Regions from separate parts of the Homo sapiens genome. Here region 2 is linked to region 1. Evidence: promoter capture Hi-C in 16 types of primary human blood cells and fetal thymus (Javierre and others, 2016). All regions are on one chromosome and are shown on one strand. Each heading gives the region's core, a stretch centred on a gene start or on the middle of the fragment in contact. The rest is flanking DNA. Distances are from core to core; before and after follow the strand shown. Region 1 holds the start of RAD51AP1 (RAD51 associated protein 1). Region 2 overlaps DYRK4 (dual specificity tyrosine phosphorylation regulated kinase 4).

Region 1 (2,700 bases), core at 168-2,667:
ATAATTGTTGGATTGTATGGCGTTTTTATTTTATGGTGCTCACTGGAAAAATAAAGAACAAAAAATTATTCATACGGTTATTTAAAAAGATATCACCTGAAATATAAAAAAAACTCAAAGGACTTTTGTACATGTCGTGGGGCGGGGCTAAGTTGAATTATCCAGACTATATTTTCAAATCTGTATGTAGGCTATACACAAAAATCTTCGTCTATTTCACCATAATGCAAAGAGATAGGGTATTTGTTTTACTCAGAAAGAATTAAAATTAAACGTAAAGCAATACAAATTTTTATAATGTTAGAAAACTACCAAAACTACATAAAGGTATATTCTATGATGTAGAAATTTCATTCCTAAGTATATATCCAAATACACACACACGCATATGTTCGCTAAAGTACACCCAGAAGAATGCTCATATAAGTTTTATTTATAATACCCCAAACTGGAAACAACCAAAATGCGTATTAGTAGGAGAATAGTAAACTTGTTTATTTTATGAGATAAATACTACACAGCAATAAAAAAGAATCAACCACTGATAAATGCAAAAATATGAATGAATCAGGAATGTTGAAAAAAAAAAGAGAAGGCAGACACAAAAGCTCTGGTTCAACATTTAGACTTGTGTTTCAAGAAACTGATAACTTTAGTTCTTTCTCCTCTCGCTCTTTTTTTAGACTAATGGTCTATCCTGAAGCCTGGGTTCAGTTTTAGCAACCGTGAAATCCAGGAAGGTTTCCCATAAGAAAATGGGATGGAAGGTCTGGACCGAACACACACAGCCAACAGAGCGGAGGCTCTGAGGCTCACATTAATCAGGGAAAAGGAAGACAGACGGTCGAGCTGAGAAACTTCAGCCGGGTGAGGGGACTAATCCCTCTGTAACGGTTGTCAGTCTGAAAGGGCATCCTCACTCGGTTCTGGGCTCACCTCGTCTAGTTCCGAAGTCCTGGGCAGTCCGCTCACTCGAGCTGTCAGCGCGTCCTGCACTGGGAAACCAGCTGACTTGCCGACATACTTTTTCCACACCGCGGATCCGCGAACGTAGATTCGCCACATCCTTTTCTATTTCCTGGCATCTTGTAGAAAATTTCTCAGTCCAAGTGCCCCTATGTCCCAACCTGTTTCAATTTAACAATTTGAAAGGTGCAATAAGGTGTATTTCTATTGTTATTCTGTATTTCAGAGACAGGGCAAATCCGCCGTTGTGACGAAAGTGCAGGGACAAAGCACAAACTCGGCTCTGGTGGACCGGATACGGAAAAGCGGTGCCTTGGGGAGGGCGGGAGCAAATTCGCTTTCCCCACAGCGCGTGCGCCGCCGCAAGCATGGCTGGTGATGATTGGACGACTGGTAACAGGGGGCGGAGGGCTCCGAAGTCTGGTTTTGGGCGGGAATTGAAACCGCCGCTGAAGCCAACAAGAATTTGAGAACTGTAAATACCAAGCCTTGAAAGGGACCATGGTGCGGCCTGTGAGGTGGGTAGTTCCTGACATTCGTCGGGGGTGGGAGGAAAACTAAGGGAAAAGACATGAGACTAAGGGGAAAGGATCGAGTAAGACCGGAGGGCAGCGATGGTGGGGTTAGGATGGACGGTTATCAAGAACCCAGTCTCCAGTGAGAGCCACCCGTTGCTCAGAAGTATCCTAGCATCGTAGCTTTTTCCTTCTCTTTGCCTCCCTTCACAACCGTCGCCGTTTCTTTTACCAAGACCTTGTTAGCGTTTGAACAGCGCTTTACATTTCACCGAGCGCCCAATTATGTGTTATTTTATTTGTTTATCACTGTAGTTATTTGATATAGAAAGAGTAAGCATTCCTGTTGTATTGATTTAACATTTCTACGTATAGAGGGTAAGTTATCTGAGTCATACAGCCCAGTAAGTGGCAGGGCAATACTCAAACCTAAGTCATCTCACTCAAGATCCTCTGTGCTTTCCATCGTGGTATTAGAAACGATTCTTCTATTTACACAGTTGAGTGCCATGGAAGCCTATAGTTAGCCATTCATTTAATAAAGTTATTGAATATATTCACTTCTTTAGTGTACGAGGTGCTGGAGGTTACATTCCAGTGGGAGGTGAGGTTAGGGGGCCGAAAATAAGCCTCGAAATATGAGAGTGCGAAAGAGGAAAGCACTACTTTAAATATAGTAGTTAATATGTGACTCTGAGGCGATAATGCATGCACTGAGTCATGAATCAGGGTAGAGGGAATAGGAGCCAAGGCCCCATACTTGACCATATTTTAGGGACAGTCTAATGCTATAGGATTAACAAGCAGTGGGGAGAATCGTAGGGGGATTAGGCCAGAGAAATAGGCAGGTGCCAGAACAGATAGGGTCTTGTAAGTCTTAGAAAGGAGTTTAGGTTTTATTTTAAGTCAATGGGAAGTCAGTGGAGGGTTTTAAGTAGGGGAGAGGAATCTAAGTTTGCTTTTATAAAGGTCACTGGCTGTTGGTGGAGAATAAATGATGGATAGGGTGACCAGAACGGGAGCAGGAAAATCAGGTATTATATCATTGGAGAGCGGTTTGGGATAGGGTATTATTAGTGGGCATGGAATGGAACAGATGAATTTGGGATGTATTTCGGAGGCACTGTGGACAGAACTTGCTGATGAAGTAGATGTACAGGTAAGGGAAAGAAAGAATCAGAGATGACTCCACAATAGTTTTGGTCTGAGCTACAGGATG
Region 2 (2,700 bases), core at 29-2,528, 71 kb after region 1:
TGCCATTCATTCCAATGGTTAATTCTTTTAAACATCATCTGGTAATCATGGCTGGAGCTTTGGAGACCTTGCCTCTGAGCAGGGCAGTGTCCTGGTTGCCATAGAATGGTGACCACACATTAACCGAGCAATCTGGCGGTAGGCAAAGGATCTGGCTGGCTCCCCAGTATAATTTACACATGGAGCACGCGAACTGGTCTTTGGATCCCAAATATACTTTTTCTACCCACAACTTAATAATTCAGCCTTTTGGATTAGGCAGAGTCACTGTGGGAAGACATATCTTGAGCCTGTAACTCTGAACTCATGAGATAGCATCTAGGTGGGGACTAGCAGGAAGGGAACACAGAGCACCTTCGTAGGAACGTACTAAAGACATAGGCATGTCTACTTCATAGAGTTCCTTATTTCTACCATCAGCACTAGGCTTTAGGATGGTGATGGGGTTTTGGCAGCAATATCCATGTCTTCACTTCCTGTGAAAGAAGGAATGTTGCTGAGAACTGCATCTTCGTCAGTGTTTTCCAAACTCTATCCAAATGTAAGAATCATTTGGGGACTTGGCAAAAAAGCGAATTCCTGTGATTCTCTTCTATAAGCTATGCTATGGGAAGATTGCGATAGGACCCAGGATTCGACGTTTTTAATGACGGCTCCTTGTGATTCTTATGACAAAATAAGTTTGGGAAACACGGTTGTCCACTTCAGTTCTTGACTGTTCCTTTCCCAGGTTTGGGCTGCCAACTGCTCCTCTGCCCCGGGCGACTCCTAGTTAATACCCCTAATTAGCAGCAAAATGGTGTTGTCTCAAGGCTGGTAAGATATTATACTTAGGTGGCCCAGGTGGCTCAGGTAGTAAGAAGGGGATGGAGGGAATGACTGATGAGGGCCAGAGTGAGAAAAAACAATTACATGATCATGACTTTAGGAGCTTTGTTATTGATAAGACTGTGAGCTTGATTCTTCTTTGGTCATTGGTAAAAAGGACAATGTAGGATGAAGTGGGAGGGCTAAGGCCATGATCCAAAAGGAAATGGATATTTGTACAATTTCACAGGACCTTGTCACTTAACATTTACTTTACCATTGTCATTATTATCATTAGCATTATTATTTTATCTTGGTTGGTGTTAAGCCATTTAAATTATTTCTTTGATTTGGAGAGGAGGCAGTGGGAAGGAAGTTCAGAACATACTGAATAGTAGGAAAAAATCAATTTTTAAAGTAAATTGCATTCCTTGGGTAATCTACACATGGTTATTTCAAACTGAGTGTGTGTGTGTGTGTTTATTGGGGTGTGGCATGAGGCGAGTGTGTAAGACAGAGAGCAAAAGAGCTACAGAGGCCACTCTAAGCAGCAGCATCATGTGACCACTAAAGATTTACACCTGAAACTAAATACAGAATGTTCTATCTCTACAGATTCCAAAGGTTTTCCTAAAAATATAACCAACAACAGGGGGAAAAAAAGATACCCAGATTCCAAGGACCTCACGATGGTGCTGAAAACCTATGACACCAGCTTCCTGGACTTTCTCAGAAGGTGTTTGGTGTGAGTTTGTTGGGACATCTCTGCTTCTGGGTTTCCTCTTAAATGCTGTACTTTGACACACGTTTGCTGGTGAAAGACTAAGGCTGGGAGATAGTTATAAAAGTAACAAGAAATGCTAACAATAGAGCTTTAAAGTCTACAAATTGCTTCCACATCTGTTGTTTCATCAGACATCTCTCCCTACTGTGTGGTTGTCAGGGCAGATGATTTGCTCTGTTTTGCACGTATGGAGGTTGGGGTTCAAAGAGATTAAGTGACCTGCCCTGGAATACACAGCGTATGGTAGAGTTTGTCATCTTCCTGGCCTCAAACTGCCTGGCAGTGAGATTGTTTGCCAGTCCTAAATGTCTTCTGCTCTGTGAGCTGAAGCCAACCCCCTGACTGCTTGTTGTAATGATTTGCATACACATCCAGTGTAAACTGGTTTCAGGGCCTGTCCCCCTCCCCCTAGGATTTAGTACCCAAATCGTCTTATATTAGGGAATTAGGGGGAAGGTGAGCTGTAAACCATTTATTATGTACAACTTTTTATAATCTATATGCATATTTTGAATCTTAGAAATTAGATCTGTACTTAAGTCGTAGTACCCAGCACAGCACCCAGTTTAAAAGGTGTTTAGAAAACGTTAGCTATTCTTATTATTTTACGACTATTAAAGAGGTAAATCTATCTCCACAGAGTGGCAAGTAGATTATCCATGTGATACTTGGCAAGTCATCACTTTTTTCTGGGCCTCAGTGTTCTTTCCTATAAAATACGGTATTCCTAAGCTCCCTTCCAGTTCTATCAGTCCTATAATTTAGTATTTTTAGAAGACCATATCATTACAGTCTCTTATTCTTCCAGTTGGATGGAGTGATGTTATCAAAATACTCTTCTGGCATCTGTGCTCTCTGGAATTTCAGTACTAGCTCAGAGGGTGAACCATGAGGTAATGATGAAAGTATTCCCATCGTAGGGGGTCATGCTATTCACTCATCAGAATAATCAAGGTAGGGAAGGATCCTGTACCCCATCTTTACCCCTACCTTAACAAATGACAGAAACCAACTGCTGAGACAGATGGGTTATCCAGAAACCTCAACCATCCAGAACACAGCTCAGCACCAAGGAAGGCATTATTTTCTTCTTTAGTGCAAAGGACTGA

What was found. The method cuts DNA at HindIII sites, captures the fragments that hold promoters and counts their contacts. A CHiCAGO score of 5 or more calls a contact.
Region 2: a fragment that was not itself captured here is called in contact with the fragment with the promoter of RAD51AP1 in region 1 in 1 of 17 cell types (M2 macrophages); the score reaches 5.0 in M2 macrophages.

The regions. Positions count from the first base shown.
Region 1 is chr12:4,537,473-4,540,172 of GRCh38, forward strand. It overlaps RAD51AP1 (RAD51 associated protein 1), which reads left to right and starts at 1,418. Exons shown (of 9, transcript NM_006479.5): 1 at 1,418-1,484. The coding sequence starts at 1,468. FERRY3 (FERRY endosomal RAB5 effector complex subunit 3) reads right to left here and starts at 997. Exons shown (of 14, transcript NM_020374.4): 1 at 937-997. RefSeq lists enhancers at 632-1,241, 1,242-1,850 and a silencer at 977-1,026. The HindIII fragment of the contact is 5,379 bases long and covers 1-2,700 here.
Region 2 is chr12:4,608,733-4,611,432 of GRCh38, forward strand. It overlaps DYRK4 (dual specificity tyrosine phosphorylation regulated kinase 4), which reads left to right. Exons shown (of 15, transcript NM_001394779.1): 13 at 1,423-1,552. Among named protein-coding and RNA genes, the nearest start is that of AKAP3, 39 kb to the right of the region's middle. The HindIII fragment of the contact is 4,491 bases long and covers 1-2,700 here.